2 separate regions of the Homo sapiens genome follow, and region 2 is linked to region 1. Evidence: promoter capture Hi-C in 16 types of primary human blood cells and fetal thymus (Javierre and others, 2016). All regions are on one chromosome and are shown on one strand. The core of a region is centred on a gene start or on the middle of the fragment in contact, and the rest is flanking DNA. Distances in the headings are between cores, read along the strand shown.

The links. Contacts are between HindIII fragments. The CHiCAGO score rates a contact against its expected background, and 5 or more counts as called.
Region 2: a contact is called between a fragment that was not itself captured here and the fragment with the promoter of RPS6KA2-AS1 in region 1, in 1 of 17 cell types (non-activated CD4 T cells). The highest score is 5.1, in non-activated CD4 T cells.

What each region holds. Positions count from the first base shown.
Region 1 is chr6:166,901,700-166,905,577 of GRCh38, reverse strand. RPS6KA2-AS1 (RPS6KA2 antisense RNA 1) reads right to left here and starts at 1,880. Exons shown (of 2, transcript NR_046644.1): 1 at 1,790-1,880; 2 at 509-1,278. RefSeq lists enhancers at 763-1,443, 1,444-2,125, 3,296-3,795. The HindIII fragment of the contact is 22,454 bases long and covers 1-3,878 here.
Region 2 is chr6:167,139,431-167,143,308 of GRCh38, reverse strand. It overlaps LOC112267970 (a long non-coding RNA gene), which reads left to right and starts at 1,958. Exons shown (of 2, transcript XR_002956379.2): 1 at 1,958-2,282; 2 at 2,774-3,878. RefSeq lists an enhancer at 1-581. The HindIII fragment of the contact is 4,784 bases long and covers 1-3,878 here.

The DNA.
Region 1 (3,878 bases), core at 631-3,130:
ATCCCTCTTCAGGGAGACCTGGTACCACCCAGCCCCCCTATCCCTCTTCAGGGAGACCTGGTACCACCCAGCTTCCTCATTCCTCTTCTCTCTGCTTCTCCATTCTATTTCATTTCTTGACCAGAGAATCTCCCCCTCCCACTGTCTCTGTGGTTTCCAGAATGGAAAAAACGTAAATATCGCTATACAACGCCCGACCCCTGCCGCCCCAAAGAATCTCAGGAGGTCAAGACCCCTGGATCTCCTTGCACCTCTGCTGTGGATTCCATGCAAGGCTTCACAAACATGCTTTTATGTGCGTGTCCAGCAGCAGAAGCCATGTGAGTGTGCAGGAGACAGGGAGCCCTTTCGAGCCTCCATGGAAAGCCAGCTCGCTTGGGCTGTGCTGGAGGCAGTGCCCCTCTCTGCTGGCTGCAGTAAAGGCTGTGAGCAAAAGGAGGGAGGCTGAAGGCCAGTAAAATAGAATCATATTTACAGTGATACAAAGCCACGTGCCACACTTTCTACTCGGTGGTGGGAATGACAGCATAAGGGTTTAATGCCTACATACAGTTAGGATCAGGCTGGAATTTGGGTGTTTGGCTCCCCATGTTTTAACTCACATTCCTTTAATTGGGTCATAGTCCTGCCCTCGCTGTCATTTTTGCCAGCTGCATGGTTCCCTCTGAGCTGCAGAATCAGGTAGACCAGAAGACCCAGGTGATGCTGGTGTTTACCTTCTTAGCTGGGAATTAGTTGGCAGCGGCCGCATGGCTCTGACATTCATTTCAAATATAACCTGCAAGGAGCAAGGAAGAAACCGCAAGCAACACAACTTTTTCGCCCTCAAATTACATCCCAGCTGAGACCGCTGCCTGGGATTTTCTCAGCATCCTTCCTGCCCCTCAGTAGGACATGCTGAGCTGTTCTGAGCCATTTCACCTGTGTTGGGAGCTGTGGCGGGAAATCAGACGGAGCGGCGTCTTGTAGCTCATTTGCCTCACGGTGGCTCCTGCTGCCTTTCTCCTCTTCCCATGTGGCCAGTGGCCAGCCAGCCCCTGCTGTCAGCACTTCTGAGCTAAGATCTCTCTGACTCCACAGGAACTGGCAGTGGGAATCCAAAAGTCACCATGGTGACGACTCACTTAGGAGTGTGCTGTGTTTCCTGATCGCGCAGCAGCCGTGGGGGCAGGCGGGGCAGCTGCGCTTCCACCCACTCTGAAGTTCACCCAAAGCTGCCCACTGGCCGGTGTTCCTCCAGCGTGGGCCTCAGCCCGCAGCATTGGCGTCCCCTGGGAGCTGTTTAGAAATGCAAATGTCGGGTCCTGCGCAGTCTTGCTGCTCAGAGTCTGCATGTTCCCAGGGCCCAGGAGGCTGCTGCATGCCGTGAAGTGTGAGGAGCCGGGTTGGGGTGGCCCACCCTGTGCACAGAGCCGGGAGGTGCCGTGGCCTGCACTGCCCCACCCCGACCTTCTGGCAGAAAGTCCAGGCTTTCCCTGCTCTACGCCGACTCCCACCATAGTCTTATTGAGATCTCATATGAGGAACCAACTCCATTCACAGCTGAGGGGCTGAATCAAAGCACTGGGGGCAGCAGTGCGGGGTGGGTGAGACCCTGTCTGGAAAATGGGACAGCGTTAGGGAGGAGTGTGTCCATGCAAGGAAGGCTTAGAAATGCTCCCACACATGTTGGGGTCTCAAAGTTTCAGCAGTGGTCACTGCCTGAGAAGCTCCGGCCAGGTCAGAGGTGCCAGGGCACAGGTCAGGAAGCAGCTGAACCCCTGCCTGCTAGCCAAGCTCCGGTTCTCACCCACTGTGCCTGGGTCACACCGTCCTATCCGGATTCCACTGGTATTCACATTCCTGGGATGTGGCGGAGTTCCAGCTGGGATCCGGCTGCCCATCGCTGTGGCGGGAAGAGAGCTGCTGAACAGCATGCGAGACCCCTTTGCAGAGGGGCACTGCTGCGCTGCCAAGGCAAAGCCTGAACAGGAGGAGGAGACGAGGGTCACAGTGATAATACCCCTTGGAGGGCAAGCTGGGGTGGGCCGAGGAAGGGGCCGGGGCAGAGCTTGAGGAATCTGCTGAAGGAACAGCCTGTTCAGGCTGACTCAGGTCGGCCCACAACTCCCTTCACCACCCCAGGTCCTTTGAGGTACAGAGGAGGCAAAGGAGAGAGCAGCTTTGCAGCCTGCAAAAGGTCTCCTGGCCCAGGCTTGTCTAATTTGCAGCTCTAGGCTCCCGTTCACAGCCCCGCATGTCTCCATGCTGGTTAGGATGATGCTAGCCCTGTGATAAACACATCCCATCATTTCACTAGCTTCACGCTCTGGAAGTTTTATTTCTTACTCATGTCCCTGTCCAGTGCTGTTGCTCCTGGTACTAGGCAGCACTCCGCATAATGAATCAGGAGCCGAGGCTCGTCAGTGCTCCACGGGGTGACTCAGGGTGCAAGGCTTCTTGTGTCCAGTGGCTCCGTCATCTCTCTTTCACCTTATTGCTGGGCTGCATCTTTTTTTGTGCCATGAACCCCTTCCAGTGGCCTGATGGTCTCAGAATAAGATTTTTTAACACATTAAAGAAAACACAAGACAGCAAGGAATAGGATATGAAAATGTTTTGTACTGCCAGCAAAACACCAGTCCTGCTGAAGCTACTGTGCTTTTTTGCCTACACTCATAATTGATGGAAATACTAAATATGAGGTACAAATAATGCAGTTGTTTTCCCATTGGAGGTCACAGGCCCCTGAATCTAACCCTGGGTTTACAGCTGTAGCCAAGAGTCAGGGAGAAGAGTGTGGAGAAGGCACAGCCGCTTCCTTGTGTCTGTGCTGGGAAGGACACCGGTCCCTCCACGCCCCACTGGCCAGCACCAGTGACAGAGCCACATCTAGTGGGTGGGCCGTGAGAAAAGAAACACTTCAGCTGAATTAAATTTAAAAGCATGTAATTGAGCAATAAACAATTTGCGAATCAGGCAGCCTTCTAAGCCAGAGTAGACTCAGAGACTCAGGCGCAGCCGCATGATGGAAGAACGCACCCTGTGTGTTCACCCGGCGTTCTTCCCTCTATGCGATTGCACAGCGTTTTCCCCAGTGTGTATTTACCCGGCGTTCTCCACCCTGTGTGATCGCCCAGCGTTCTCCCCTGTGTGTGTTCCCCTGGCGTTCTCCCCTCTGTGCATCCACCAGGCGGTCGCCCTTCTGTGTGTTCCCGCGGCGTTCTCCCCATGTGTTCACGTGGCGTTCTCTCCCCTGTGTGTTCCCACGGCGGTCTCTTTACTCTGTGCGTTCCTCGGCATTCTTTCTCCTGTGTGCGTTCACCAGGGGTTCTCCTTTCTTTGTGCGTTCACATGGCATTCTCCACCCTGTGCGTTCGCTCGGCGTTCTCCCCTCTGTGCCTTCACCAGGTGTTCTCCCTTCTGTGTGTTCGCACTGCATTCTCCCTTCTGTGTGTTCACGTGGCGTTCTCTCCCCTGTGCGTTCAAACTGCGTTCTCTTTACTGTGTGCGTTTCCCCGGCGTTCTCCCCGCGTGTGCGAGTTCACGTGGCGTTCTTTCTTTGTGCGTTCACATGGCGTTTCCCCACTGTGCGTCCCTGTGACGTTCTTCCCCCTGTGTGTTCGCGCGGCGTTATTTCCCCTGTGTGCGTTCACGCGGCGTTCTCCCCGCTGTGTGTTCACACGGCGTTATTTCCCGTGTGTGCATTCACGCGGCGTTCTCCCCCCTGTGCTTTCACGCGGCGTTCTCCCTGCTGTGTGTTCACGCGTCGTTATTTCCCGCGTGTGTTAGGGCGGCGTTCTCCCCGCTGTCCGTTCAACTTACGTTCTTCTTGCTGAGCGTTCGCGTGCCGTTCTCCCCACTGCGTGCTCGCGCGGTTGTGTTTCCCGTGTGTGTTG
Region 2 (3,878 bases), core at 639-3,138, 240 kb before region 1:
AACAGCTAACGGGAGAGATCTCAGAGCACGAGCTCTCCCCTGGTTGCACCCCCAGCCCCGCCGCCAGCCACGTTGTCTCTATCACATTCCCTGGAGAAAAGTAAGTAAGGAGGCCCAGAAGGCTGAAGGACAGGGCCAGGGGGCTGGTTCTCAGAGGGCACCCCTGGCCACGGCCTCTCATGCATCCGTGTGAGATGGTGTCAAGTCAGGTCTGCAGAGGACTAGAGGGACAGGGGTCCTGAGAAGGCTTTTCCTAAGGAGAGGCTGCCTCCAGGCAGCACCACCTCTCCTGCCCCACCTGGACACCTGGGGGCCCAAAGGCAGCAAGGACCACCATGAAAGCCAGCTCGCCCAGGGTCACACACACTCCTCTGCCATCCTAGTGCACAATCAGATGTGCCGTGATTCACAAAGGTGGAAAAGGGAGGTTGCCTGGAATGTTTATTTACCTTTCTCCTTAATTTTGGACTTGCATAATGAATTCTTGGTGAGTAGAGATTACATCATTTTACATATCTTCTTTTTATTAACTTAATATCCTAAAAGTCATTCTACATTATCTGCCATAAAAATATATAGATGCTGTATTTCCTGATTTATACATATATTTATTCTGCTATGTATATGTTCACATAGCAAAAAAATAAAATAAAATAAAAAGGAAAGAGCCAATCTACTATTGTGAATGTTAAAAGCAACAAGGAGAAAAATGAACAGCAGCAATAGTGCAGTGATATTTTTCTGAAGATTTTACGCCACGGGTGCAAGAAGATAGTATAAGATTGTATTAATTTCACATACTTATTATCCAAAATAAACTGTAGAGTTTCCCCGCTAAGACATACATGTGACATTTGTCCTTTGACACGTTGCAGAATTAGGGCAACAGCCGGGAAGGTGAGCGTCTCCAGGAGCAGGTGCAGGCGCTGGGAGGCGGCTCGCGCACCAGAGGGCAGCAGCGCCCTGTCCAGGGCAGAGGCACCCCTGGAAGGCTCAGGAGCTCGGCTCCTGGTGAAGCCAGGACTTTAGGAATCGCATTTGCTCCCCACTGGCGTGAAGAGAAGTGCTAGCTCATCTATTTACATTCTAGGTTCAGAAAGGGGACCCCAAAATGTTATGTGACATCCAAGAATCCAGTTCATCTTTCAATGTTAGGCAGAAAAATGAAACCTTATTCAAATGTTAACACTAATTCTAAATACAGTATTCTGAACATTTAGATGGACCGGCTGTGGGCACTGTGGTAATTATTAGTGGGCTACAGGAGAAGAGGCCCCTGTGTACAGGGCGCATCCCAGGTGACCCTAGACTTGCTGCACAGGGCCAGCCATATCTCCTGAGTGGCCTTGGCCTAGTGGGCTGCCTCGGCTACCGCTTACCTACAGCTGGGGAGATGCAGACCCTCCCCTCTGGTTAAAGAGAGGAGTCCGGCTGCCTCCCCTCCATGAAAGTGGTTTTCTCAGTATCTCTCCCCCTTCTTACATGGTGTGTTTGTGATTACTGCGTGCACATGGACACACGGCCACCCGCTGAAGAGCATCCCAGACTTTCTTTCACCTGGCTGTAACCATGTGACTAAGTGAAGGCTCCCACCTTGGGAGCAGAAATGATTTCCACAGCTTTCCAGTTGTGTCTTTAAGGCCACCTGCTTCCCGCATCCTGCTTCTTGTTGTCTAGAATGGAAATGGGCTGGAAGGAGGTACAACAGCTCCCTTGTGCTGAGGACAGCCTCGAGGTGAGGAGAACAGCACTCTGCCCATCATTCCTGACTGTCCACCTGGACTCTCAATGAAGAGAGGAATCAGCCAAGAAGTAGAAAATAAATCGTTCCTGCCTTAGCTCTTATATGGATTTACCTAAATAAGGCATCAGGAATATCATGCTATTGGCAAATGCAACACAAGGAAGAAGATTGCAGCTGTGCATACTGAGTCATAAGCATGAAATCAGGTCACAGCAAACCACCCTGAGCTCTGCAAACACACCAGAGCGAGGGGCCTTCGTCCGAATGCTGCAGCCTCTTTATTCTGTGAGATCACAAAGACTGAGTGCATCAGATTCTCAGAGCAGCCAGCGGAATGTAGAATGCAGACCACCCCAAGCTCTGCAAACATGCCAGAGCGAGGGTGGCCTTCATCCGAATGCTGCAGCCTCTTTATTCCGTGAAATCCCTGAGCACAAAGACCATGAACATGTCAGGTTCTCCACACAGCAGCCAGCAGAATGTAGAATGCATCAGGGCAGCTGTGCTGTGAGGCTGCAATGACTCAAATCATCTAATGGTAAATGTAAAATGCCACCTCCTTCTGTGTCCTACAGGAGAATGTGCCCCAAGAATGAGATTAAGACAACAGAGAGCCCCGCTGAAGTCATGAGCCTTGAATGCTCTGTTTATACAAATAGGGGGCAGAATAGGGCCTGGCCTCCCCTGGGCTATCACAGCTGCTTTCTGCTGCCACAGCTGAGATCACCATCCCTAGGTCCACAGCTGAGAGGGGGATGTCTCTGCTTTGAATATGGAGGCCACTCAGACTTGGGGAAATTCCCCACTTCCCTGTCAGAGAACTGGGAAGGGAGGAGATGCCACACCTCAGGGCAGAGGTCAGGGCAGTAGGTGAACCACTGGGATCAGATACTGAAACTTGCACCACGGGTGGGTGCTGGAGCTCAAGGCTGTGCACGGGTGGGTGCTGGAGCTCAAGGCTGTGCAGGTTAGATAGGCAGGCGTTGTCTCACTGGGGACCACAACCCTTCTCTGTCATCTCTCTGTGAGGTCTGCACCTGAAAAGCCGAAATGGGAATGAATGTTTGGAACATAACTTATTGGAAAGGCGGAAAGTATGTACAAAGAAATTCTCACATGTTTCAGGTTAACTTTAATAGGAAAATATGCCCCACCTTCAGGGAAATAGATGTTAGGGGCTGGATGGTGTCCCCTTAAAATTCATATGTCAAAGTCCCAACCCTCAGTATCTCAGAAAGTTGTGATATTTAGAGACTGGGATTTTAAACCGGTGATTAAGTTAAAAGGGCCTTTTCGGTGGGCTGTAATCCAATCTGACTAGTGTCCTTATAAGAAGCGTCAGCTCACAGAGGAAAAGCCATTTGAGGCCTCAGGAGAAACCAACCCTGCCAACACCTTAACCAGCCTCTAAAAATGTGAGAAATAAATGTGTTGTTTAAGCCACTCAGTCTGTAGTATTTTGTTAGGGCAGCCCCAGCAAACTAATGTCCTAGCAGACTATAGCATGTACACTGCGTTCATTGAGACCACATTCTCTGTACACATATCTCCAGAATGCCTGTAATTTGCACACATCACCACAAGTCTTAAAAGGATTTGAAAATATTGTGTTTTTCTGGCCTCATTTAAAATCCAGTCTGTCTGTCCTGAGAAGCAAATCACGTACAGTTTGCAAGGTAATACTTAAGTACCTAAATGTTGAGATTTACATACAGTAAGATCTCACGTATCCAGAAATAATTGAATACTTGGAGGTTCTAACACATTGCCCCTATTAATAGACAATTCTGACAAGCGCAGATAGCTGATGTCCCCACCAAACATATAGAATAATGTTTGCAATGAGTGGAGAGGAGGACTAACGGCAGACACAGTTAAGGCTCAGGAAGAGACGGCCAGAGCCTGAGAGCAAAAAGATATGGGGAGAATCAATGGGAACCACTGAAGAACAGCCCCTTCTATCTTAATGTCTCCTGAGAGTGTCAGGTTACCATGGCACCTGTTTTGATGCCCAAGACAGCAAGAAAAATGATGTAACCTAATGTACTACATTTAAGAAGAAATAAAGTATGTGGTATATTTTGGAAACATTTTTATACATCTTAGCTAAAATGTTTAAAAGGTTATTGCTTAA